3 separate regions of the Homo sapiens genome follow, and all the other regions are linked to region 1. The links are contacts of gene promoters, found by promoter capture Hi-C in blood cells and fetal thymus (Javierre and others, 2016). All regions are on one chromosome and are shown on one strand. Each heading gives the region's core, a stretch centred on a gene start or on the middle of the fragment in contact. The rest is flanking DNA. Distances are from core to core; before and after follow the strand shown. Region 1 holds the start of DYM (dymeclin). Region 2 overlaps SMAD7 (SMAD family member 7). Region 3 overlaps CTIF (cap binding complex dependent translation initiation factor).

Region 1 (2,700 bases), core at 55-2,554:
TTTTTGTTGAGACAGTGTATCGCTATGTTGCTCAGGCTGGTCCTTCCGAACTCCTGGGCTCAAGTGATCCTCCCACCTTAGCCTCCCAAAGTATTGGGATTACAGGCATAAGCCACAGGGCCCAGTCTACTTTGGGTTTTAATATGTTTTCCTGTCATAATTCTGCAAGCTCAGTGAATTTACTGGCAGTCTATGCTAGAAAAGAATACCTAATATTTGTATAGTACTTTACAGAGTACACTGGCACATATTGACTATATAATGGGAATAACGGTGCTATCTGTTCCATAGGGTCATTTTGCGAAATAATAGTGCATGGCAAATAGAAAATAATCCATAATGTGAATTGTTATTACTACAGTCATGTCAACATTTCCTGTAATGGCAGAATCATCATCATGCATATATTTTAGGTGAGGAAACTGGCTGAGAGAGGTGAAGTAATTGCTCAAAGACGTCAGTGTGGAAACCTCAGCTCATTTGACTTCAAATTCCATAGTTTTGGCACTATCTCATATTGCTACTCTTTCCCGTGGGACCTGTCCTTTCCGACAACTTTGCAGGCAGGGCTAGCCCTGCCAGCTGCCTCCATCAAAAATTATTTTGCTATTTCTCAATTCTCCAGAATCCCACACAATATTGCTTGACTTTGGGATGGTTATTCAGCTGCAATTAACAGAGGCCTTAATAAGGTTAAGCCGCCAGAACGAGCGGTGTAGCATGAGCGAGGACTCTAGCACCTGGCAGGTGAGGTTGACTCTAGCACCCGGCAGGTGAGGTTTTTGCGCTTCTCTCTCTCTCTCTTTTTTTTTTTTTGAGAAGAGTCGAGCTCTGTCGCAAGGCTGGAGTGCAGTGGCCCGATCTCGACTCACTGCAATCTCCGCCTCTCGGGTTCAAACGATTCTCCTGCCTCAGACAGCTACTTTTTGACTCACTGCAATCTCCGCCTCTCGGGTTCAAACGATTATCCTGTCTCAAACAGCTACTTTTTGTATTTTTAGTGGAGACGGGGTTTCACCATGCTGGCCAGGATGGTCTCGATCTCCTGACCTCGTGATCCGTCCACCTCGGCCTCCTAAAGTGCTGGGATTACAGGCGTGAGCCACCGCGCACGGCTGTTTTTGCGCTTCTCGATTTCGCCACGTGGCTTTGCGGTAGCCCAGGAGGTACTAGGAGGGCGGAGGCACGAATAACACCCAAAGGACTACAGTTTCCAGAAGCCCGCGCGCGCCGCGTGCCACGTGACCACCTGGCTGGCGCGCGCGCCTGGGGGTCTGGTCCCTAGCCGCGTTCTCGGTCGCTTCCCTCTTCTCTCGCCGCCTCCTGGCCTCCGCACCGACGCGGCCCGGGCTGGAGCCGAGCCGGGGCCGAGCTGCAGGCCGGACCGGAGCCGGATCTGTACCCGCTGAGACGTGGAAACATGGAGGCCTGAGCCGGTGTGCGCCACCTGGGCTGCGGCGGCGACAGCGACTTCTCCTGACCCCTCTGCCACCCTCCCATCCGTCCGCGGGTCCGTGGAGCTGGAGCAGATCCCCCAGCCGGCTGAGACAGGTGGGCTGTAGCGCCGCCCCCCTCAGCGCGGCCGGGCCCGAAAGCCTGGCTGTCCCCGGCCTCCTGTCAGAGGGGGTCAGGGGCCACCCTCCGCAACCCGGCCAGCGCCCCGGGGCGGCGGCGAAGGGACCCTCCCTTCCCTGCCCGCGGGCGCCTGGGCCACCCGGAGGGGCTGTGCTGACAGCGGACGGACCTCTGTCCGAGTCCGCTGTTGGGAGTTGGGGGATACCGAAGGCCAAGTCGGTGCTTCCGGAGATGGGGCGGTGTTGGTCTGACAAATGGGCGTGTGATGGGCAGGGTGAGCAATAGCTGTTGGGTTTTTCTTTCTTCTTTTTACATTCATAGTTTATCGAGGTATAACTAACATATCAGAAAATTAACCCTTTAAAAGTACAACTCAGTGGTTTTTAGTATATTCACAGGGTTGAGCAGCCATCACCACCCTTAACTCCAGAGCATTTTTAATCACCGCCCCCCCCGCCCCAAAGAAGCTCGTACCCATTAGCAGTCACTCCTCCTTCTCTCCCCTACACTATTGATCTACTTTCAGTCGCCGTGGATTTGCCTGAGCAATTGTGTTTTGACTGAAAAGTGAAAGGGTGGGTGTTTGTGAACTGGGGGCAGTAGTGGGGTTTGAGGGTATTGGTGTGGTAAAGCTGATTGGATAAAGCTGTTCTCTACTGAACAGGGGTAGAGAAGTGATGGGATGATTGTAATCGGCCAGCAAAGCGGGTACCCAGGATAGACTGATTAGGGGGCACAGATGGAGTGAGTTCCTTGAAAGAGGAGAGGGGAAGTTGGAGAGAGGGGTGTGTAGAGCAAGGGTGATGTGCTGAAGGATGAAAACCTGGAGGGTGGAGGCCGTGGAGAGGAATGTAGCGTCCACCAGAGGAACTCAGGTGCTTAGGCTGATGAGTTGAGGGCTCAAGAGAAGAACGAGGTGGAAGGGAAGAGAATCTATAGGAATGGGTGAATGGTTGTTGCAGAGGATGAAATTTATGAATATATGGATTTCTGGAGTGATTATCCTGCTTTGAAGTTTTATTTTAGATAATCCTCTCAGCAACTTGGAGATAGACCGGACAAGTATGAATATTCCCATTCTGTAAATGAAGAACTAGTCTTTTAGAGGTTAGGTGTCTGCCTTAA
Region 2 (3,035 bases), core at 2-2,501, 540 kb after region 1:
AGCAGGCTTTCTGGGTCCTGGTTTTCTCATCAGGATGACAAGGGGCTGGAGGAGCTGGCCTTCAAGGTTCCATCCAGTTGAAAGATCTGTAACTCCAGGACGTTGCTGAGGCTTTTTGAGGCCCTAAAAGCAGACTACCCAAGCTATTAAGGGTCCCTTTGCATCTGTGCTCTGCAGAGAAGAGGCTTTGTTGGCCAGGTGGGCACAGATGCTGGTGTACTGGACTCCTGATGGGCAGGGGCCTGGAGAGAAGCAGCACCCAGCGCTTCCTATGCTTAAAGAAAGGCAGGGTCCTGGTCAAAGGGCTGTAAGAGCCTGGGCAAGTCCAGGACTAGCCTCACCGCCTCCTTCTTTCTGTCTCGTCCTGAGAGATGAGCTGGTGACTGGGTGCAGTGGGGGGGCGGGTGTCTTCATTCTAGGAGTCACCAATGCCTGTCCCCACTAACCCTCTCTGCCAATGTGTTTTCTAGATTCCCAACTTCTTCTGGAGCCTGGGGATCGGTCACACTGGTGCGTGGTGGCATACTGGGAGGAGAAGACGAGAGTGGGGAGGCTCTACTGTGTCCAGGAGCCCTCTCTGGATATCTTCTATGATCTACCTCAGGGGAATGGCTTTTGCCTCGGACAGCTCAATTCGGACAACAAGAGTCAGCTGGTGCAGAAGGTGCGGAGCAAAATCGGCTGCGGCATCCAGCTGACGCGGGAGGTGGATGGTGTGTGGGTGTACAACCGCAGCAGTTACCCCATCTTCATCAAGTCCGCCACACTGGACAACCCGGACTCCAGGACGCTGTTGGTACACAAGGTGTTCCCCGGTTTCTCCATCAAGGCTTTCGACTACGAGAAGGCGTACAGCCTGCAGCGGCCCAATGACCACGAGTTTATGCAGCAGCCGTGGACGGGCTTTACCGTGCAGATCAGCTTTGTGAAGGGCTGGGGCCAGTGCTACACCCGCCAGTTCATCAGCAGCTGCCCGTGCTGGCTAGAGGTCATCTTCAACAGCCGGTAGCCGCGTGCGGAGGGGACAGAGCGTGAGCTGAGCAGGCCACACTTCAAACTACTTTGCTGCTAATATTTTCCTCCTGAGTGCTTGCTTTTCATGCAAACTCTTTGGTCGTTTTTTTTTTGTTTGTTGGTTGGTTTTCTTCTTCTCGTCCTCGTTTGTGTTCTGTTTTGTTTCGCTCTTTGAGAAATAGCTTATGAAAAGAATTGTTGGGGGTTTTTTTGGAAGAAGGGGCAGGTATGATCGGCAGGACACCCTGATAGGAAGAGGGGAAGCAGAAATCCAAGCACCACCAAACACAGTGTATGAAGGGGGGCGGTCATCATTTCACTTGTCAGGAGTGTGTGTGAGTGTGAGTGTGCGGCTGTGTGTGCACGCGTGTGCAGGAGCGGCAGATGGGGAGACAACGTGCTCTTTGTTTTGTGTCTCTTATGGATGTCCCCAGCAGAGAGGTTTGCAGTCCCAAGCGGTGTCTCTCCTGCCCCTTGGACACGCTCAGTGGGGCAGAGGCAGTACCTGGGCAAGCTGGCGGCTGGGGTCCCAGCAGCTGCCAGGAGCACGGCTCTGTCCCCAGCCTGGGAAAGCCCCTGCCCCTCCTCTCCCTCATCAAGGACACGGGCCTGTCCACAGGCTTCTGAGCAGCGAGCCTGCTAGTGGCCGAACCAGAACCAATTATTTTCATCCTTGTCTTATTCCCTTCCTGCCAGCCCCTGCCATTGTAGCGTCTTTCTTTTTTGGCCATCTGCTCCTGGATCTCCCTGAGATGGGCTTCCCAAGGGCTGCCGGGGCAGCCCCCTCACAGTATTGCTCACCCAGTGCCCTCTCCCCTCAGCCTCTCCCCTGCCTGCCCTGGTGACATCAGGTTTTTCCCGGACTTAGAAAACCAGCTCAGCACTGCCTGCTCCCATCCTGTGTGTTAAGCTCTGCTATTAGGCCAGCAAGCGGGGATGTCCCTGGGAGGGACATGCTTAGCAGTCCCCTTCCCTCCAAGAAGGATTTGGTCCGTCATAACCCAAGGTACCATCCTAGGCTGACACCTAACTCTTCTTTCATTTCTTCTACAACTCATACACTCGTATGATACTTCGACACTGTTCTTAGCTCAATGAGCATGTTTAGACTTTAACATAAGCTATTTTTCTAACTACAAAGGTTTAAATGAACAAGAGAAGCATTCTCATTGGAAATTTAGCATTGTAGTGCTTTGAGAGAGAAAGGACTCCTGAAAAAAAACCTGAGATTTATTAAAGAAAAAAATGTATTTTATGTTATATATAAATATATTATTACTTGTAAATATAAAGACGTTTTATAAGCATCATTATTTATGTATTGTGCAATGTGTATAAACAAGAAAAATAAAGAAAAGATGCACTTTGCTTTAATATAAATGCAAATAACAAATGCCAAATTAAAAAAGATAAACACAAGATTGGTGTTTTTTTCTATGGGTGTTATCACCTAGCTGAATGTTTTTCTAAAGGAGTTTATGTTCCATTAAACGATTTTTAAAATGTACACTTGATTTCATGTTGTCCTCCAACTCCTTTTTCTTCTGCTGCTTGGAGGGAGTGGGGAGGAGTGAGTATTCATCCAAATTCAGTTGAGTTGGCGTCTTCCCAGCCCAGTGCTTGGAGGATGGGAGACGTGGGCCACAAAAGAGACATCTAGAACAGCCCTGGTCTTCAAGAGTGCTGGAAAGACCTGCAGCCACCCAGACATCCCTCCTTCTTGTGTCTTGAATTTGTAATGGGAGACAACCTACAGGAGCTCTGTGGGTGATAATTCAAAGCTTGTAGAATTGAGGACAGGGAATTACATCTAGGGTAATGGGAAGGAGACAGGATTAGAGGATGGATGGATGGAGAAGTTTAGCCCCAAGAACCTGGGTCCATCTGGTTCTTGCCAACTCCTCACTTGGTATTAAATCCTAAGCCTACTGTACCCCTGCTAGACTGGATTCCAGGAGAAGTTTCCTGGGGGCTGAGACCCTGGAAGGGTGATGAAGGTGGGGGTTGAATGTCAGTGGTGT
Region 3 (2,814 bases), core at 1-2,500, 620 kb after region 1:
AAATGAAGTGTTGGAGAAGGCTGTAAAGGTGAACACAGTGCCTAAGTGAAGGCTCCTACACTAAACTCTGTGTTGGCCCCGAGGGAGACAAAGGTTGTGCAGTAATGCATATACTTTGAGCCCACCCAAGTGTGCACAGCCACAGCCTCAAGCACAGACATGCTGTCTGTGTTGTGCTTTCTATGAAGTGTGACTATAAAGGGGACTCGTTTCAGGGGGGCGGACAAAAATCAATCTATATATTTCCTCAGATTTTCTCCAGTATCTGCCTGTGCAAGGACCCAGGTGAGACATCTTCCAGGCGGCCACTGCACCGAGAGGCTCACGTGAGGCGTGGGCAGCCCAGCACGCTCAACTCTAGGAGGGCACTGGCTTGGGAAGGCAGCGCACCTGCCTTCTGATAGGCATTTCGCCTGGGATGAAAGTTCAGTGTAGGCTCCAGCTCCTATGTGAGTCTACCCACAAGCTGACGGGCTGTTGATGTGCCGGGGTGTTGGGAGAAAAGCAGGAAGAAAAAGCAGGTGCTTTGTTGCTGTCATTTCTGGATTTTAATTAATGCCAAGACTACACACTTGGAGAAGTGAGAACTCTTCCTACTTTAGGGACACTGATAGGGAGCAAGTTTGGGGGAAAGTAGAAAAAAAAAAATCAGTTCTTCTATTTTCCAAGGTAAAATAAAACCCCAGGGAAGACGGACTTTGTTTTTAAAAGTCTCTCTTCCTCAGTGTGCCCCCGTTCTGGCATTGGACAGCAAAACCAAATCAGAGTTCCAGAGACAGCCCCACTCCCTTCCCACCAGGGAGGGTGTGGGTGTGGGGGATTCTTAGCCTCGCAGTCACCCAGTTGCCCAGGGCTGCTGGGACAGGTTGGTGGGGGGCAGGGGCTCAGGGCATCTGGGAGCAGGGAGAGGGATGCATCCAGTGGGTAGTTCCCAGCCCTGTGTTTGTACTGGATCCACCTAGGAGAGAAACAGATCCAGCCCTCACTCTTTGATTTTAGGGCTATGTAGGGCTGTGGGGGCCTAGGAATCTGTATAGTAAGATCTCTGGGTGTTTCTGGTGCAGTCAGAGTGGGCACCACTGAGAAAAATGTCTCTTCAGGTGGATGGGAGTGGCAGAGGCTCCATAAATGACTGAGACCCTCTTCTTAGCTCTAATCGCCTTTGTTCAGTTTGGGCTGGGCTCACCCAGGCTCAGGTGCCCCTAGGCCCATAGCTTCCACCCCTGCCTTCAGGTGCTTCCCCCAGCCCAGACCTCAGCCCTCCCCAGCTCCCAGGCCACTCCTCCTCCTCTGAGTTCCTGCAGCACTGAGAATTTGAACCCCGGATGTGACATGAACAGTGGTCTCGGTGTCCTCTGAGTGGGGATGTGTGCCAGGCCCCTGCTAAATGCTTGATGGGCCTTAGACAGCCCCCTTCTCGCCCCCACCCTGTGAGGCAGGCACCAGTGCTCCCTTGCTCTAGGGAGGGGCTCTCGTGAGCACAGGGATGAGGATTTGGATCCGAGACCATGAGGCTGTTGTTCCTCCCTTTACCAATGTGTGTATGGGAGGCCCCGGGAAAGGAGACCCCCCAGCCCCTGGGCATTGGATGGGAGCCAGGAGGAGAAAGATGAGGTCCCCAGTCCTTGGCAGCTCGTAACCTCTGGACCTCACTCCTTTGCCCCCAGGCCAGGCAGTGCAGGCTTTGCTGTCAAACCCTGGCTGCCTCAGTTTCCTGCCCTTCCCCGCTCCTTATGCGATGGGAAGGGACAAACAGCCCAAATGTGGGCAGGGATGCAGGACTAGTAGCTGACAATTTCCCAGGGTGTCCCACTGGGCCCCGGCGCCCTCTCAGCAGGCTGATGGCAGGTGATGTGGACTAAGCAGGGGACACACTCACAGATGGCATCTATGTGCGGTGCCCAGGAGGAAACCAGAGGCACAGCTTGGGTGGCAGCAGAGCCAGCACCAGAACTCAGATTTCCTGACTCCTAGCTGGTTGTTCCTGCACCAGGCAAAGAGGAGAGGAGTGGAGGAGGAAGGCCTGGCTAATCCTTACCTGGGCATGACCAACGGCAGTCTCCTGGGGCTTCCCACCCTGCTTCCTTGCCCCTCTAGGGGAATGGCAGGTGCTGGCAGTCCAGGGGGACCTGGTGGGATGTTGGGACCTGGAGGGCTGAAGTGATGGGGTTGGTTGGGGATCTCACTCACTGGTGCCTCATAATCGCCCAGGCCTTTGGAGTTGAGGTGTGAGAAGCTGGAGGGCCTGCCCCATACGCATCTTAGGGGGCAGCAGGGTGGTGGAGGGGTCCCCTAGATGCCAGTGGTGACCCCACTGTCCTCCAGGCAGAGCAAGCAGGGCCCACACAGCCCTTAGAATCAGGCCTTGAAAAAGACCAGGCTGAGCATGGGGACCCTGAAGGGCAGCCCAGGGCCTCTCTGGGGGCTGCTGGCTGTGCTCAAGAGGGGGCACCTGATGGGACCACGTCAGCTCCAGGAGAAGCACAGAATATACTTTTTAACTCTGACTTTGTTGCTGGGATCTTGAATGCTCCAGAGCACAGTGGGAGCTGCCTCTTTAGAGAAGCAGCTGCTGGGGGAGGAGGGAGGTGGGGCCTGGAGGTGGGTGGGCTCCAAGGCAGTGGCTCCTAGGGCGGGGGTATGCATTTGTGCCTTCCTGCAGCAAATGTTCATGGGCTAGAGGGCCTGGGGCCATGGGGACCAAACAGCCCGGTGCCTGTCCCCAGGCCACCTACAGTGGGGGGCAGAGGGGTAGAATGACAAATGCAAACAGGGAGCTGGGAGGGAGCCCCCTTTGGATGGATGAGGTGATCA

Evidence for each region. The method cuts DNA at HindIII sites, captures the fragments that hold promoters and counts their contacts. A CHiCAGO score of 5 or more calls a contact.
Region 2: a contact is called between a fragment that was not itself captured here and the fragment with the promoter of DYM in region 1, in 1 of 17 cell types (neutrophils). The highest score is 6.4, in neutrophils.
Region 3: a fragment that was not itself captured here is called in contact with the fragment with the promoter of DYM in region 1 in 1 of 17 cell types (naive CD8 T cells); the score reaches 6.2 in naive CD8 T cells.

What each region holds. Positions count from the first base shown.
Region 1 is chr18:49,459,249-49,461,948 of GRCh38, reverse strand. DYM (dymeclin) reads left to right here and starts at 1,304. Exons shown (of 18, transcript NM_001353214.3): 1 at 1,304-1,551. RefSeq lists a silencer at 1,326-1,905. The HindIII fragment of the contact is 8,649 bases long and covers 1-2,700 here.
Region 2 is chr18:48,919,346-48,922,380 of GRCh38, reverse strand. SMAD7 (SMAD family member 7) reads left to right here. Exons shown (of 4, transcript NM_005904.4): 4 at 471-2,528. The coding sequence ends at 1,009. Among named protein-coding and RNA genes, the nearest start is that of SMAD7, 30 kb to the left of the region's middle. The HindIII fragment of the contact is 3,093 bases long and covers 1-2,797 here.
Region 3 is chr18:48,835,903-48,838,716 of GRCh38, reverse strand. The region is part of intron 10 of CTIF (cap binding complex dependent translation initiation factor); the gene reads right to left. The region is part of intron 2 of CTIF-AS1 (CTIF antisense RNA 1); the gene reads left to right. Among named protein-coding and RNA genes, the nearest start is that of CTIF-AS1, 4.6 kb to the left of the region's middle. RefSeq lists enhancers at 1-67, 68-846, 1,117-2,016, 2,017-2,814. The HindIII fragment of the contact is 7,442 bases long and covers 1-2,814 here.